3 separate regions of the Homo sapiens genome follow, and regions 1 and 3 are each linked to region 2. The links are contacts of gene promoters, found by promoter capture Hi-C in blood cells and fetal thymus (Javierre and others, 2016). All regions are on one chromosome and are shown on one strand. Each heading gives the region's core, a stretch centred on a gene start or on the middle of the fragment in contact. The rest is flanking DNA. Distances are from core to core; before and after follow the strand shown. Region 1 overlaps SMAD5 (SMAD family member 5). Region 2 holds the start of IL9 (interleukin 9). Region 3 overlaps TRPC7 (transient receptor potential cation channel subfamily C member 7).

Evidence for each region. Contacts are between HindIII fragments. The CHiCAGO score rates a contact against its expected background, and 5 or more counts as called.
Region 1: a contact is called between a fragment that was not itself captured here and the fragment with the promoter of IL9 in region 2, in 3 of 17 cell types (monocytes, M1 macrophages and M0 macrophages). The highest score is 8.2, in monocytes.
Region 3: a contact is called between a fragment that was not itself captured here and the fragment with the promoter of IL9 in region 2, in 10 of 17 cell types (M1 macrophages, M0 macrophages, endothelial precursors and 7 more). The highest score is 8.0, in M1 macrophages.

The regions. Positions count from the first base shown.
Region 1 is chr5:136,155,311-136,158,325 of GRCh38, reverse strand. The region is part of intron 3 of SMAD5 (SMAD family member 5); the gene reads right to left. Among named protein-coding and RNA genes, the nearest start is that of SMAD5-AS1, 22 kb to the right of the region's middle. The HindIII fragment of the contact is 682 bases long and covers 982-1,663 here.
Region 2 is chr5:135,894,075-135,897,214 of GRCh38, reverse strand. It overlaps IL9 (interleukin 9), which reads left to right and starts at 1,374. Exons shown (of 5, transcript NM_000590.2): 1 at 1,374-1,512; 2 at 1,625-1,660; 3 at 1,743-1,775; 4 at 3,064-3,140. The coding sequence starts at 1,399. It overlaps LOC124901074 (a long non-coding RNA gene), which reads right to left. Exons shown (of 3, transcript XR_007058947.1): 3 at 1,067-1,517. The HindIII fragment of the contact is 6,689 bases long and covers 1-3,140 here.
Region 3 is chr5:136,230,163-136,233,082 of GRCh38, reverse strand. TRPC7 (transient receptor potential cation channel subfamily C member 7) reads left to right here. Exons shown (of 12, transcript NM_020389.3): 8 at 1,534-1,729. The region is part of intron 1 of TRPC7-AS2 (TRPC7 antisense RNA 2); the gene reads right to left. Among named protein-coding and RNA genes, the nearest start is that of TRPC7-AS2, 5.0 kb to the right of the region's middle. The HindIII fragment of the contact is 1,643 bases long and covers 640-2,282 here.

The DNA.
Region 1 (3,015 bases), core at 73-2,572, 260 kb before region 2:
TCTAGTCCTTTATATGTTTCCTGTCTTTCTTTTCTGGAAAGTTTTCAGAATCTTTTTTTTAATCTATGATATACAAAAATTTCATGTGGGGCTTTTTTTATCCTTTGTTCTGATTACTTGGTCACTGAGCCCTTTCAATTTTCAGTTTGGGGAAGTGTTTGATATTATTTCTTGGAAAATTTTCTCTCTGCCATCTTCCTCAATGCTCTATTTCCAGAATATATTATTCTATTAGAATTGATATTTAATTTGAAACTGATTCCAGGCCACTTAATGTTTTAACAAGTACTTTTTAAGGCACCAACTCATCTAATGCTCATAACAACCTATTAGGTAGGTAGTATTATTACCATTTTACAATGAGGAAACTAAATCTCAGAAAGGTTAAGGCTTGAGGTAGTATTTGGTAAAACCAGGATTCAAATCCAGAAAGCCTGGCTCCAGAACCCACAGTCTTAATCAATAGACAATACTGTCTATTAGATCAGGGGTCCCTAACCCCCCCAGTTCATGCTCTCTTATGAACCAGGCCATACAGCAGGAGGTGATGGTGAGAGAGAGTGAGCGAAGCTTCATCTGTATTTCCAGCCACTCCCCATTGCTCTCACTACCGCCTGAACTCCGCCTCCTGTCAGATCAGTAGCAGCATGAGATTCTCATAGGAAAGCAAATCCTATCGCCAACTGCACATATGAGGGATCTAGGTTGTGCGCTCCTTATGAGAATCTAATGCCTGATGATCTGTCACTGTCTCCCATCATGCCTGGATGAGACAACCTAGCTGCAGGTAAACAAGCTCAGGGCTCCCACTAATTTGACATTATGGTGAAATGTATAATTATTTCATTACATATTACAATGTAATAATAGAAATAAAGTGCACAATAAATATAATGTGCTTGAATAATCCCAAAACCATCCCCCAACCAATTCTATGGAAAGACTGTCTTCCATGAAACTAGACCCTGGTGCCAAAAAGCTTAGGGTGCACTGTATTCAACTAAACACCTAGGACCACCTAGGTTGGCCCTCTATTTTTCTTATGTTCATTATCTCTTTCTAACTATCCTCCATCTTTTTATCTTTTTGCAAAACTTACTCCACTATATTCTAACTGTGTGAGCATGCCTAAGTTACTTCCCTTTTAAGTCTTTGTTTCCTTATCTATAAACCCATAAGTAAACTGAAAGGGTTGTAAAATGTCAGTACCCTTTTCTAACCCCATGAAGGAATCACTATTCCATCAGTGCTCAATAAATATTAATTGCTATCACTGTTACTACTATCACTACCACCACCTTCTACTACTTTATTAATACTGGTAATATGAAGTGATCCATTCTGCGTCATAGCTGCTTAATCATGGGGGGTCAGCAAGCTAATCTAGCTGGGTAATCTGCCCCTTCCCCCAAGAGTTTGGGCTCAGGGCGAAACATGAGGTCTCTATAGTCTCTTTCCAATAGTTGAACTAGTAAGACATGAAATTTTCCGTTATTTAAAAGTATCAGAGCTATGCCCCAGTCTTTTCTATAGAATGAATCATAGCTGAGAAAAATGTATACAAAAAATAAGACATTTCTATTGGCTGGCTGACTACTAGTCACACTTTGGCTATAGGGGAATACATAAAATTCCTAGACTCCCTCCTAGCAAATAGCAAGCTTGGGAGTTTTTCAGCCTATACTTCTCTATTAAATCCTTTTATCTTCCTTTCTTCATCAGTTCCTTCAGCTATCAGCTTTCCTTGGACTCAGTAAGAAACTGAGAATCATATCATACCAACTGTCTAAAGACACTCTAAAGCTCTTAAGTTGAACTTTCACAGACAGCATAATCACTGCTATCTGCTATCCTTTCTACTAGTCTCCACATCCAATGTTATTTTCAGTCTTTTTACCACACATCTCCACGTGAAACCCAGATAGACTCTAAGGTAACCACTGTGATTCCCACCTCCAGGTATTCAAACCATTGGGTAATTCTCCCTGCTTGAGTATGAGTATGACCTATCACTTCCTTCTAACCAACAGAATATGGCAAAGGTGACAGCGTATGTATGATTACATTCCACAAGAATATAATGTCCTTCTTACCAGAAGACCCTCTCTTCCTTACTGGCTTTGAAGAAGCTGTCATGAATGTGAACTACCTATAAAGAAGGCTATGTGAAAGCAACTAAATCTGTCAACAATCACATGGGCTTGGAAGCAGATCCTTCCCTAATTGAGCTTCTGATAAGACCTTGGCCCTAACCAACACCTTGATTACAGCGCCTTGCAAAGGACCCAGCTAAATGTGACTGGACTCCTCACCCAAAGAAACTGTGAGGTAATAAACATGCATTGTGCTAAGCCACTAAGTTTGTGGCAATCTGTCATGCAGCAATAGATGACTAATGCACTCAGCTAGCAGCTCAGCTTATACCATTCATTATAAAAAAAATTTACTGAGCATCACCTACCAAGTGCCAGACAACAATATACTATTCTAAGCACTAAGGATAGAGTAATGAATGAAATAGAGGAAGACTCTGCTCATGTCAGTCAATAAACAAAATAAATATCTAATATAGAGTCAATTAGTGATGCGGATATTTGAGCAAGGACTGAATGGAATGAGAAAATGTGCCATGGAAAGATCCTGGGGGAGAATAAGTAGACAGCAAGAGTTAAAGCCTGGAAACAGGAGTATGGCAAGTCCAAGGAACAGAGAACTCTGAGGATAGGTCATACAGAGTCTTACAGAAATCTCTTTAAGTGTGACAGCCTTGAAAGTGTTTTCAGTAGGAACTGACATGATTTAGTATGTTTTTAAAAAATCATTCTGGCTGTTGTGTGGAAAACACAATGGGTTAAGGGGAAGAAGAGACGCAGAAAGACCAATTAGGACACTACTTAAGGTGAGTGATGATGATGATGTACTGTACTAAAGTAGTGATGTCACAAATGATGAGAGGTGACATATTTATTAAGACATATTTTGAAGGTGCAGCAAACAGCATTTGCTCATATTTTA
Region 2 (3,140 bases), core at 125-2,624:
CTGCGGCTTCCTGGCTTTGTGGTTTTGGGCAAATTACCTGCCTCTCTATGCCTCAGTTTCTCCATCTGTAAGATAATAAGAATAATTATAGTACTTCATAGAGTTACACTGAGATTGCTTTTTTGACTCATAGTGATTAAACACAGCCATACTGAAGGGCCAGGAAGCTAAGATGTAGACAGTGTTTTAAAGGGTAAAAAATGGTGATGACAAATTACTCCCCACCTCATTTGGCAGCCGAGTGTATTACATGGCTTAATGCATGTAAAGTACTTAGAAATGTTGCTAGTATGGTCAGGCCCAGTGGCTCATGCCTGTAATCCCAGAACTTTGGGAGGCCAAGGCGGGCGGATCACGAGGTCAGGAGTTCAAGACCAGCCTGGCCAACATAGTGAAACCTCGTCTCTACTAAAAATACAAAAAATTAGCCGGGCGTGGTGGAGGGTGCCTGTAATTCTAGCTACTCGGGAGGCTGAGGCAGGAGAATCGCTTGAACCCGGGAGGCAGAGGTTGCAGCGAACCTGGATTGTGCCACCGCACTCCAGCCTGGTGACAGAGGGAGACTCTGTCTCAAAAAAAAAAAAAAAAAAAAAAGAAATGTTACTAGTATGTAGTAAGTTCTCAGTAAATGTTAGCTACTATACTCTTTCAAGTGCTGGGTTTTTACTTGATGTCATACAGTGTTATATAAGATCTCCAAAGATACTGAGGAGTCCTCAAGGCCAATTTTAACAAGCATGGTTGCCGCATTCTTGTGCTTATAGTTGAACATTTCTTCTTTCAGACACTTGCACAAAGGGATACTTCTAAGATGCATTTGCATTAGGTGGCAAACTTCATCCTGGGTATGAAAAACATTGAGATTTGGGAATAAAGCATAGTAAGACTGAGGTTGCAATTACTAAAGGAAAACCCCAACAGAGATAAGTGAAGTTCTGCAATATCATGCACCCTCCCCCAACCCGCTCTGTCTCCCCAGGCCCCCCTTCGTTAGAACACCCATGACTGGCTATATTATATCAGCATTTCCCATAATGTAAAAAGGGAAAATACAGACCTGGGCGTTCATGGAAAGTATTCTAACTCTCACAACCAGAATCCCTGTCTTTGAATTTTTTTTCTTGGTTTTTAGATCTTTAACTTTTCCTTCAGCATTTCAGTACTCAACTTTTTGAAAATCATCTTTTCTGAGGAATGATATTTCCTGGCACAGCATCATCTCTGTCAAGTGACTCAGTTTGATTTTTTTGTTTGTTAGTATAAAGTGGCCCCAACTTACAGAGAAAAAGTGGGCTCTTGGTATCAGTTTGATGTCAGGGTTTTTCCGTGTTTGAGAGGGAGCTTTAAATACCACTCGATTTGAAGGTGTCTGCAAGCGAGCTCCAGTCCGCTGTCAAGATGCTTCTGGCCATGGTCCTTACCTCTGCCCTGCTCCTGTGCTCCGTGGCAGGCCAGGGGTGTCCAACCTTGGCGGGGATCCTGGACATCAACTTCCTCATCAACAAGATGCAGGTAGGCTGCAGGGGGAGCCCATGGGAAAGACAGCTACTGACAAAGTGAAATATGTATGAGGATGAAAAAACTCGGGGCTGACTAAAGGTTCTTATCTCTCTATCTACTTTAGGAAGATCCAGCTTCCAAGTGCCACTGCAGTGCTAATGTGAGTGAATGCTCTTTAAGAACTTTCCAAATTAATTTTAATTTTCACATCTGGAATCTTCACTCTGAAATTTCCCTTGCAGGTGACCAGTTGTCTCTGTTTGGGCATTCCCTCTGTAAGTATAGTGAAATAACATAATGTTGACCTTGGATTTTTTTGGTTTGTTTTTAAGTAAAAATAAGTTGCTTTATTTAATATTTAATGTTATACATTGTTGCTTAATTTAATTGTTACAGATTAGTATTCCCTGTTAAAACCACATTGTTACAAATTATTCCCTTTTAAAACTACGATCTTGAAATCCTATATTATGAACATTTCTTTGTATTTAATTAACTTTATGCCTCTTGAGAAGTTTGAACACTTTTCAACATTAAAAAAAGAATCCTGAATATCTTTTTAGATAGGTGGCCATGTGCACAATTAAATAAAACTGGAACTAAGGATATAATAATTGCTGTAGCTCATATCATATTGCTTTCTAACTCATTTACTGATAACTCTAGAGTTGTGAAACAATGTAAATAAAATGACAACTCCTTATCTTTCATCTGTCATGAATGATCTATGCGCTATACCTCCCCCTCCCTGCCTCCTCCCTTCCTCCCCACCACCCTGTTGTCTGTCTAGCTGATTAGAGTGACTGTTGGTTTGAATGCTGCCCTCTGGGCAGGTAGAGGATCTGAGGTTGTGAGTGGAAGGAGGGCTTCCAGAGGGCCACTGCCCACTACGGCAGGAAGGATGGGTGGCAGGAAAGTTCTGATTCCTAATTCAAACTCCTGGTTAGGGTGAGGAGGAGGCACTTCTCCAAGGTGCAGTGCTTTATTCTTTCTCATGCAAGGCCTGGGAGAATCTGAAGAATCTGAGCTTCTTGCCCTGGCTAGGGTAAGACATCGCACCCATCGCGGTCCATCCATTAGATGAGAAGAGGATAGAGTGCCTTCTGGGCAGGAACCAGGCAGACAGCACAGCCCCTGTCCCTTGGAGTACCGTCCATGTTTTTAGCTGCTGCTGAAATACCAGCTGCATTCAATTGTCACATCCCATTAGCTGGTGTGAAAAGGCTTTTCCTCACTCTGCACTTTCAGACTTACAAGCCTTGAAGCCGGGAAGCACCCGTTGAAAAGAACATTCAGAGCCGACTATTTCAGGGCCCAGAGCCCTCATGTTTCCTGGATGTAACATACAGGAAGTCTCCTCCAGGGGATGTCACTGTGGAAAAATGGCATCCCCTTTAAATACGGGAGATCACTTCCTACATTGGCAAGGGACCTGTCTAAAAATAATGCAAGTTTGAGTAATGGTGATTAAATAAAAATCATCTCTATTATATTGCTCTTTGTGATATATTTCCAAAGCTGTCCTCAGAATATTTCTTTGAATAAATCCTTACTATTTACCAGGACAACTGCACCAGACCATGCTTCAGTGAGAGACTGTCTCAGATGACCAATACCACCATGCAAACAAGATACCCACT
Region 3 (2,920 bases), core at 212-2,711, 340 kb before region 2:
TACACATACACCCCCACACAATCACACTCGGGAGAGCTGTAAATTCATGCGAGTCAAGAGTTGGATTTTTAGCCCAAGTGACGAGTACCAGTATTTTTGTACATCTTGTCAAATAAATACCAATCCTTGAGAAATGCTGATATTTTTAAAGATCTAGCTAATCCTGGCCATTTGTGGGTGAGTGTTGAAAACCTGAAATGTTAAAGAGGAAAAAAAAAAGTGCTTTCTTACAGTGGTACCAAAAATCTGGATGAAAACTAAAAGAACTGCACTTAACCATTCAGATGTTACCAGATATACATGCATGGTCTAAACCTCCCAACCAAAATCCAGCTTTCTTATTCGATTCTAGGTCATCAGCCTGATACAGTGTCATGCCCATAGAGTATGGACTACGAAATGCACTTGGGTCTTATTCATAACACTACTGTATTTCAGTTACTTCGTAGTCTCAAAAGGGCCAAAGAGCAGTGTCGTTAAAGCTGAGACTAACCTGAACTGCCTTCAAGGCACATGCAGCATCTAACCTAAGTGAGCCGTAGGGTGAGGTTTGGGCAATCACCTGGTGATTTTGAACCATGTGGGCACACCAAAATCCCCACTCTCATTCTTGATAATTCAGCCCCAGTTTAGAAAGCTTAATACATGTGGCTAGCCTCAGCTCTGTAACAGGAGGTCATATGAGAGCCCGCCACAGAGCTGGTCATGAGGCTTAAGTGAGCTGCTCTTTGTCGAGTGCCTAGAAGTGTCAGACTCCAGGGATGCCATCCTCCTGTGTGGACACTGCCCACTTTCCAGGTGTCTGCCATCACTCCCCTTCACGTGGGCTGTGGAGTCTGAGAAGAAATGGTTAGGGCTTAATGGAAGGAAGAATGCACTTTCTGGGGCTCATAATGCACAAGAACAAACATTTACCCAGGTGTTTAATTTTAAATGTTTAAGTTAATTACAGTAAGAGAAAAGTGATACCACAGCCAGGAGTCCCAATAAATGGATTGAATAAAAAATAAAGAGCTTGCCATTTTTAATATTCTTTCAAAGTCTTCTTAGAAATCTGAATATCACATTATCTCAGAATGCAGGCATCACCAACCAGCCCAGCCCCACTCCAGGGTAACAACTGGGCACTCCAGGGTAAAGCATGACCAATGGCAACTTTCATTTTAAAAGTTCAAGCTGGCCAGATGCAGTGGCTTACATCTGTCATCCCAGCACTGTGGGAGGCTAAGATGGGATGATACCTTGAGCCCAGGAGTTCAAGACCAGCCTGGGCGACATAGTGGGATCCTATCCCTACAAAAAATGAAACAATTAGCCAGGTGCGGTGGTGCACAGCTGTAGTCCCACCTACTCAGGAGGCTAAGGCAGGAGAATTGCTTGAGTCCAGGAGGTCAGGGCTAGAGTGAGCCATGATTGAGCCACTGCACTCCAGCCTAGGCAACAGAGTGAGACCCTGTCTCAAGATAAATGAATGAATAAATAAAAGTTCAAGCTGATGCAAACTGCGTAAAAGGACCGTCTGTTTCTTTGCAGGGTTGAAGAAAGTTTTAAAACTTTGTTTTGGTCCATATTCGGCTTATCTGAAGTAATCTCAGTGGTGCTGAAATACGACCACAAATTCATCGAGAACATTGGCTACGTTCTCTACGGCGTTTATAACGTCACCATGGTGGTAGTGTTGCTCAACATGCTAATAGCCATGATAAACAACTCCTATCAGGAAATTGAGGTAAGGCCAGGTCACTGAAAATGCTTGCTCTCCTTCATCTAATTTACATTGCTTTTTTCAGCAATGAGGGGAATGATGTTAGAAGCCCATGTGTTGTTAAATGTGCAGCCAGAACAGCAAAGAACAGGCATTCTTCCTGGATTGCTTCTAGAAATAGAAGCAGTCAAAGTCAGTCTGCCCCATGGCATTGCTGGTACCACCATGAGGCCCAGCGAGAGCAGAAAGAACTGGGGTCATGAGTCTTCTCTCTTTTACACTTGTCTTCTCAGGACCTCGTGCAGATGACCCATGGCAATCAATCAGAATGACTTTCAGCCCCCAGGCCCCTTTCGCCTCTCACGTGTTATTTATTAAGTACCTACTGTATGCCAAATCCGCACTAGGCACTGGTGATACCAAGATGACTAAGACACAGTTCCTGCCTAGAGAAACTCATAGTCCAGTGAGGAGATCATACAGGGCAATCAACAAATTCCAATGCCCTGGGGCCAGTGCAACCAGGTTGTGGGGAGTGGTGTGGGGACAGAGACAGAGATTGACTATGGGGGAAGCTTCCAGAGGTGATGCTGGAAGGCCATTTAAAAACAGAACAATTTTGCCTGACAGATAAAGGGGTTGAGAGAATGTATCAGGAAGCAATTTATCAAAATCTAAAAGGCATGAACCATAAGCTATTGATTGCAGCTTGTTTGGAACAGCAAGAAATTAAAAACAAACTGAGCATTAATAGGAATCTAATTAAATAGACTACGATGCATCTGAAAAATGGGATGCTGTGCAATTCTATTTTAAGAAGGATAAATATGTTCTGTATATGCTGATGGGGAAAGACCTTCAAGTTACAGTGGTAGGAGGTAAAAATCAAGTTCCAGAACAATGTATATAGTGGGCTCTCTCTTGTGTAAGAGAGAAAGAAAAGGGAATGTGATTCATTTGTGATTGTATAAGCAAATGAAAAGAACAAACCTCTGAAAGGTCCACAAGAAAGACACCACGGGGTGCCTGTTGAGAGGTGGGAATAGGGGGCATGGTGGGTGGAATTCCTTTTTCTTTATACTTTTTATCCTTTATAAATCATGTTGTTGCTTTACCTTCTACATGATTAAATAAATAAGCTAAAGTTAAAATAAAAAGCACTGACCTATTGACTCAACAATTCCAATTCTGGGAATAGATCCAATATCATTTTAC